2 separate regions of the Homo sapiens genome follow, and region 1 is linked to region 2. The links are contacts of gene promoters, found by promoter capture Hi-C in human tissues and cell types (Jung and others, 2019). All regions are on one chromosome and are shown on one strand. Each heading gives the region's core, a stretch centred on a gene start or on the middle of the fragment in contact. The rest is flanking DNA. Distances are from core to core; before and after follow the strand shown. Region 1 overlaps LDLRAD4 (low density lipoprotein receptor class A domain containing 4). Region 2 holds the start of CEP192 (centrosomal protein 192).

Evidence for each region. The method cuts DNA at HindIII sites, captures the fragments that hold promoters and counts their contacts. A contact is called where the count stands out against the background at its distance.
Region 1: a fragment that was not itself captured here is called in contact with the fragment with the promoter of CEP192 in region 2 in 1 of the 25 tissues and cell types used here (dorsolateral prefrontal cortex).

Annotation. Positions count from the first base shown.
Region 1 is chr18:13,379,965-13,383,954 of GRCh38, forward strand. The region is part of intron 2 of LDLRAD4 (low density lipoprotein receptor class A domain containing 4); the gene reads left to right. Among named protein-coding and RNA genes, the nearest start is that of LDLRAD4-AS1, 46 kb to the right of the region's middle. RefSeq lists enhancers at 1-353, 354-853, 1,545-2,169. The HindIII fragment of the contact is 4,118 bases long and covers 1-3,557 here.
Region 2 is chr18:12,989,159-12,993,030 of GRCh38, forward strand. It overlaps CEP192 (centrosomal protein 192), which reads left to right and starts at 2,204. Exons shown (of 45, transcript NM_032142.4): 1 at 2,204-2,279. RefSeq lists enhancers at 523-1,135, 1,526-1,905 and a silencer at 2,386-2,465. The HindIII fragment of the contact is 10,836 bases long and covers 1-3,872 here.

The DNA.
Region 1 (3,990 bases), core at 249-2,748, 390 kb after region 2:
TGCCCCTGCCCGCCAGCCCCCTGCCCGCCAGCCCCCTGCCCGTCAGCCCGAGCCCTCACGCCAGGCCACAGTGGGAGCAGAACCTCTACGGGGGTGGGGCTGGGTTGGGAGGGGCATTGCCGCTGCTTGGCTGGTGGCCACAGTGGAGGTGTCTGTGATGTGCTCAGACCGGGCTCAGACCAGAATGCACGTCTGCTCAGGGATCATCTGCCCCTGGGCCAAGCCCTGACCCTTTCCCATTCCCTTGTGCATGTGGGTGCTGTGGGAATGGCCTGGTTCGGGCCCTGGAAAGCAGAGATCTTCCCAGTATTCCCTGATTCCCAGCGAGCGGCTGGTGCAGGTGTGCACGGCTGTCTTCCTAGCATTGCAGGCTCTCCCTCCTGAGCCAGTGTCTCCTGTGGCCGCTGTGTGTAGACAGTGGAACTGGAAGCTTGGGCCAGGATCCAGACACCTGGTTCCAGCCCTGGCTTGCATTCCTCCCACACTCATCTTCAACCTGTCCCCTCTCCCTGAGCCTCTGGATCGCCTCCTCCACAAAGCACAGGGGTCGGATATATGACTCCTTGCGGCTTCCTCTGCTGCTAGATCATATGAGTCGATAATTATAGACTTACTAATGCATTAAGGACAGTTATCCTGTTTATTTTAGGGGGAACTCTCTCCAACTTGGTTTGAATATAGCCTCAGGATTTATCAAGTGTTGGATTTGTCAAGGTGACATTTTAAAGAATGTTCTAATATAATTATTGCTTTTCCTGTTTGCAGCCTGTGTGTGTCTTTGAATCGATGTTTTGGGTTTTGTACTTGCTTCCTGAATTGGTGACCTACAGCAAGGCACTACGCTACCCTGAACTACATTATGCTGAACAAGTAACCAGATCCCACTGAGCTACCCAGGGTGAGGATGGCTTGGAGGTTGTGTTACAAAAGCTACATGTTATTTTGCCCCCCCACATCACAGAGATGAAAAGTAGCATGAAAAATTCATCACACTCCAACTCAGTCTTCCCTGGCTATAGGCAGCCTGTTTCTCTGACTTGCTCTCAGATTTGCATTTCCATGTGGATTTTCTGTGCTTCTGCACTGTGTCCCTTTCTTTTGTTTCTCTTTAGTTTTTTTTTTTTTTTTGAAGAGACAGGGTCTTGCTATGTTGCCCAGGCTGGAGTGCAGTGGTGCAGTCACAGCTCACAGCAGCTTTGAACTCATGGGCTCAAGCAGTCCTCCTGCCTCAGCCTCCCCAGTATAGGTGTGCACAGCCATGCCCAGCTAATTTTTATATTTTTAGTAGATATGGGGACTTTCTATGTTGGCTAGGTGGGTTTCAAACACCTGGGCTCAAGCAATCCTCCTGCCACAGCCTCCCAAAGCACTGGGGTTACAGGCGTGAGGCACCGTGCCCGCCCACTGTATCCTTTTTTATGCCCATTTGCCCTCTCTCTCGGCCAGAGACATGGCCATAGGGGACTTTTTGGAATGGGAGGGACCTCCAGTTTCACCTCCTCATTGTATAAAAGAGGAGATGGGAGCCAGGGCCGGGAGTCACCACGGGTACCAGAAGCAGAGTGGGTCCCCTACCTGGGGCTCTCTGCCTACGGCTGGCTGCCTGGAGGCAGAGGTGTTTTATTTGTAGCACCTCCTTTTCTTTACTGTTAGGAGATCTTGAGACTGACTGGCCGTTGCCAAGGTCTGCACTATCCATGAGCTCTGAGGCACTCACATGGAGACGTGTGACATCTCCCTTGGTGGGACACCTGGTCCCAGCTCAAGTTGGAAATAGCTTCTCAAGGGTCTTTTCCCCACTTTTTCTCCCATCTGTCTCATGACAAGCCCTTTGCCTCTTTGATCCTAAATGAACATAGGGTGAGATGATGCATAGGTGAGCTGTGCCGTGCAGCTCTCAAACATGGTCATTTTTATTTTTTTTAAATTTTGCAGCAGAGCCCCAGTTTGCCGAGGTTTAGAATGACCTCTTTGGTTGGCAGCGTTCCTTTCTCCCTGGAACTTCTCTGGTGGGTAGAGTGGCCAGGGATCGGCATCCACAGGCCGGGGCTCGGCCCTGAGCGTCTGTGGGGCCTGGAGCAGTCGCCATGGCTGTGGAGCTGTCACCTAGGTAACCGACATTCCGCCAGCGAAACAGTCTGTCCACAGCAGGAGGAAATAAAAAATGAAACTGCAGCGTCAATTCTTTATGCACTACGGTTTTTTGAGTGCTACTTTGATTTTGGAAAAAAGGCTGTTTCACTTCTCCATTGGATTTTGGCCTCCGTGCCCCTGTGTGACCCTCACATTTCCTGAACCCCATGTATCTGTTTTTACAGTGTCTTTTAATGAAAGATATAATACGGACACAGTTCAGTTTGTATTCCTGAATGACTCTGAGGAGGACTGCGTTTCATATAAGTTTTTGTGAATAACTGGTAAGGCAGACATACCCTGTAACTTACTTGGTTAGGTTTGTGAGTGTTCATGTTTTTAAAATGTCCCTTCCTGTGGGGGTGTTTTTCCATTTGACGTGCTCTATTTCCTTAGTAACTGTTGCTCTGTTATGGGAGGGACTTAATGACATTTTTCAAGTGCAATATTGAATTAATTTATTTCCTGGTTAGTCCTGCCCATCTTCCCAGTATAAATAGAACCTCCATGTGTGTGTGCGTGTGTGTGTGCGTGTGTGTGCGTGTGTGCATGTGTGTGCGTGTGTGTGTAGAATGATGACCATGTGCTTGCTGCCTTGGGGGGGATCTTGACTGTGACCTTGCGTCCTGGGTAAGTTGCCTCTTCCTGTATTCCCCCCTCTCCTTCTCTCTTGATTTAAGCTACTTGGGTTTAGGGAGCTTCCTGGGCCTCAGGAGTAGCATGGGAAGCAGTGCCTTCAGGGCAAGAGGCCCAGGGTCAGTCCTGCTCTCCTGCTGCCAGTGTTGGGCGCAGTTCTTGCGCCTCCATGGGGCAGCGCTTGCTCTCTCTCTGTAGCCTGAGGGCATTTAAGTCAATGACCTCTGAAGGCCTTTGCTGGATAGGACTTTGTGGGAAGTGTAAGTGCAGCAGGCTCACCACTTGTAATCATCATCTCAACTCTTCTAGTGGGGTGGTGGGAAAACCAGCCCGGAGGGTCCCAGCCAAGCAGGCTGAGGAGCAGCACCTCCACCTGGGAAATGCCCCTTGCCAGGCGCAGCTAGGGCTGGGTTAATTGTGTAGGTGTTTGCTGAGCCTTCTCTGCGCTGTGTATAGTACTCAGGGAAGCTTCACGTAAGTGTCTTCCTTCACTCATGTGTTCGCTCAGGAAATACGTATTTACTGGGCACCTGCTGGGTGCCAAGGGGAACTGGAGGATCTGCTGGCCACTGCCTTTGCTCTCATGGCACTTGTGGGGGAGACGGGCAGGCATGGTGCAATCAGGACACCCGTGTGGAGTCGCAACTGCAGATGTTTTGGGAAGCCGACCAGGTGCTGCGGGTTGTGTAGCAGGGTCTGGACTTAGACTGGGGGCCATCAAAGAAGCATCTCCAGGGAGGGTTGTTTGGGCTGAGACTGGAAAGCTGAGTGGCAGCTCATGAGCAGGAGGCTCACGAGAGCAGAAGATTGGAGGGACGGCCGGCAAGCAGCGTTTGTTCAGCTCCTCCAACTTTTACCCTTCCACGTGTTTGCTCCACAGATGCCCAGCATGGCTGTGCTGATTGCTGGTTGGTTTCTAAACTAAAAGCACACGTCTTGTCCAGAACAGGGCCTGCAGGCTTCTGCTGACTGTGCTGGCCCTCAGAGTTTTCTCTGGGTCCTGATCACCCACCCTGCGCTGCCTGTTGGTCACCTGACACACTTACTGAGTGCCGCTGGGTTCTGGCCCCTTCTGGGTGGTCACAGTCTTTCACTGAGCAGAACGAAGCTTGCACCTCTGCTGCGTATTCCTAGAAAGGGTAGCTAATCTTTGTTGCTAGCAGTGAGAAAGAAGACTTTTTACAGCATTTATAATTGCATTTTACCTTGAAAATTGCATTG
Region 2 (3,872 bases), core at 954-3,453:
AGGCATACCACTTTAAGCAGTTGGTAAAAGGGGAGCTGAGAGATGTCTGAACTTAAAACTGGATAGGCCTCACTTCTAATTCCCTGGGAGGCACCCTGGTCATGGGGCCTCTGCAGGCTCTACTCAGTGTCTAAAGAGATTTGGAAATCACAGTGGGAGTTCTGTTCCTCCTTTCCAGTTGGCAAGTGAGGTGAGATACTGAGGTATAAGATAATAGCTAATGTTTGTTGAGTATTTCCATGGGCCATTATTTTTCTAGATACCTTACAGAAGTAGCTTTAAATCCTCACAGTAAGCCTCTGAGGCAAGCGCTTTAATTATCCCCACTTTACAGACAAGGAAACCGGCTGGTTAAAGCTACTTGCCCAAGGCTACACAGTTTGGAAGAGGGAGGTAGAGCCAGGATTCAGATCCAGGCAGCCTGGCGTCAGAGTCCAGGCTCTCCTGCTGCCGAGACTCTGAATCAGAGATCTCTGTTAATAGAGTCCTATCAGGTTACTGAGTGTTGTGGGGAGTGCTGTGGTGACTTGAGGATATTTATGGAGGAAGGACATTTATTAACAAGGATCTGGTGTGAGTGACAGTCCGGAACCTGTAGACACATTTAAGCAGTTCACCTCCAATGTGTGACCGCTTTGTAGAAAAAGAGGTTAAGAGAGGTCAGCTCTAGGGCTGAGCATTTGGCTTACTTTTTTGGGATTCAGAAAATCTTGAGATTTTCTGCATTTATCTTTGCTCACTGAGTGTGGACAAAGGTAGAATAAAGGTAATTACTCTTTGCAAATACCAAGGCTGCAGGGTTCCAAGAAGAGGTGTCGAACTGTGGAGATATCACTGAGTTTGACAATTAGGAGTCTATTCCTGATAAAGTTTTAAGGACCCAGCTAGACACCATGAAATGCGTCAAAATAAGGTGTAAAAAGTGGAAGCCTGGCTTCCTCTATGGAAAAAAAAGTGGAGACCATTAAGGGAAGGAAACAAGAATGGTCATTAGGTGATGAAACAGAATCAAGGAAGGGGTGTGTGTGGGTGTGTGGTTTGAGTGGTGTTTGTGTGTGGAGGGTGTGTGTGGTGTGTGGGTGATGTGTATGTGGGTGTGTGTTGTGTATGGATGTGTGTATACGTGTCACACACGTGTGTGTGGTGCATATGTGGGTGTGTGTGGTTTGTGGTGTGAGTGGTGTGTGTGGTGTATGGGTGTGTGGTGTGTGTGTTTGGGTAGAGAGGTGCTGCATTTTTGTAGGCAGAGAGAAGGAAACCAGTGGAGAGGATATCCAAGAATGACAGGTGAGCCATGTTTGCAGGAGGTAGAAAGTGGTCAAGTAAACAGACGTCTTTCCCCACCAAGTAACCTCAGGTCTAGGGACTTCTAAACTTTGCGTTTTCCCTCTTCTTTCCTCCAAGGTGCGCCGGACATCTTTCAGTAACTTGAACGAAGTTAAGGAGTTAGCTTTGGAAAAGAGGGACTCTTTTCCCTCTGTGACTATATGGAATAAATTTTGAGATAAGGGACCTTACTGAAAAAGACTGAGATACATTTTGAGTGAAAGGCATGGTCTCAGTGAAGTAGTTAAGGGCCTGTGCCGAGCAGATGGCGGTGATGGGTTTTGTGGCCTAAGAAGGATGGAGAAAAGTAGGAAGCAATCGAGACAAAGCCTACTCTGTCACAAAGAGGCGACTAGATGTGGCGAAATGTCATGAAACTTGGATCCCGAGGAATTAGCTGATTGAAGGTGAAACCTGACGCCTTTCAGCGCCTACCAACAGGAAAGGTCTGCATCTGCCCACGGAAGGACGAAACCTATCGGGGGGGATTTGTTGGCGGGGGATACTTCTTTGCGCATAGAGTGACTGGCGGTGCCCTGGAGACCCAAACTGAATAAAGTAAGCATTATTTTCAAATTCGCCAAGACCTTGAAGGCGGCGCCAACGGGAGCCGTCCCCCGGGTCCCACGCAGCGCAGAGCTCCATTTCCTCCTCCGGACTCGCAGGGCGCGCGGCTTCCTCGCTTCAAATCCAGGAACGCGCTGTCCCCACCAATCACCGGGCTTCTTCCCGCCCCATGTCTTCCCGCTGTCCAATCAAAAGCCAGCTCAGTCTCCTCCCCTTGCCTGGTGCCGCGAACAGACGTAAACCAGAGGCGGGCGCGGTACGGCCGTTCCGGGCTCCAGCCGGTGCGGGGGCCACGCGCACGCGCACTTGCAGTGCCCTGGGACACCTCTTCAGTCCGTGGACTTTCCCGCTGCACACTGCCCTCCGAAGTCGGGGACGCGGGCTCGGTGAGGGGGGACGCTGGTGCCTCGGCCTGCGCCTAGGCGGGAGGCAGACGCATGCACCTTTGGCCTACGTTTCGGCTGCCGGACCGACGGGACAGTGACGGTTGGGCCGGGTGGGGGCGCAGGCTGTGGGGCGGCCTCAGGGCGCGAGCAAGGGGACTGCCGCGCTTCCCGCGCCTCTGCGCCTGGCGCAGCCTCTGAGCTGAGCTCCGCCTGGTTGGGATTAATTGCACGCCTCTGTGTCATCGGGCTTTGGCCGGGCGTGATGAGACAGACTGTTAGGGGATCACGTCCTTCTTTCCTCCCCTCTTGTCTGGGGACTTCCACCTCTTGAGGGACAGGCCCTCTCCGTGCTACCCTCTGGAGTTTCTTGCAGTGTGCTTGTGAAGTGACCGGTGATGTTTCCTTTATGTGCCCTGTGATGGGCGGTTCTGTTCCTCCTTTTTGTTTAAAATTCTGACCCAGGAAGTAACCTTGTTAACTTAACTTAATGCCCTTGTCTTCCGTTTACTCACTTGATTTGGTTTCTGCTAGGTTGCGTTCATTTATTCCTAATAGTTTACCTACATTCCTTGCCTATGATTTCATTATCAACAGAACGTGAAATGAGACGAATGTTAATACACTCTACTTTTACTTTGCTGTTACTTTCAGAGTTTGTTTAGTAAAACATGAGGACCTCTTCAAGTCAGTCGTTTGGAGAACAGCTGTTTATATGACCATATTTCCATTTGCTCTTACTATTTTGAGGTCATTCGACTGGCGTTTTTACTGCTCCAAAATCAACTTTTTCTCCAAATTTCAGTTTTCTAGGCAAAAACGGCAAGCCTTGAACAATAATATACCAAATGCCTACCTAGTTTTAAAGTATATCTTAAAGTGCCAAGAGTAAATGATGAGTTTTGGGGAAGTTTGACTCGGCTTTGGGTTCCACGGCGTGTGCTTTTAAATGTGTTTAATTGTATACATAGACCTACGATTAATGACTATAGTCAGTAATCTTTTATGTACCTAGGAATGTAATTAGTGAGTCCAGATGTGAAATTTGAGGTCACTACTTTAAGGAAATAGCAAGAGAAATTGCAAATATAGCCACTCAGTTCAAATAGGATAGAAGAAAAATATTGTCTTCACTTGAGATGATGGAGGAGGGGTGGGTAATGCAATAATGTGAGAAATTAAAGGAAATTTCCTTTAGGAATGTGTTATGTCCATGAATGGTTTACAAGTGTAATCTTTTCTGGAGAAGAGACTAGGTATTAGGTTACATCTTGAGGAATCTTCCCGTGGGTTTTGTTACCTTTGCACCCTTAGCAAAGCTCTGTTGAAGCACTTAACACTATCGTAGTTGACAGGGATTGTCAGCTCCCTGAGGGGAGCTGCCTTATTTATCTTTGCATTCTTGGTGCCAAGTAGAGGGTTCTTCATGGTTTGTGTTTGATAATGAATGTTGCATGAATGACCTTTGCATAATTTCTGAGTTTTCTTTGGATTAGGCCCTTCTAAATAGGGACAACTGTTGAAGAGTTTTCTATAAATTTTAATAGTTTACATGTCTGTATATGAATGAATAACTTAGTAATTACAAGGCTAGAC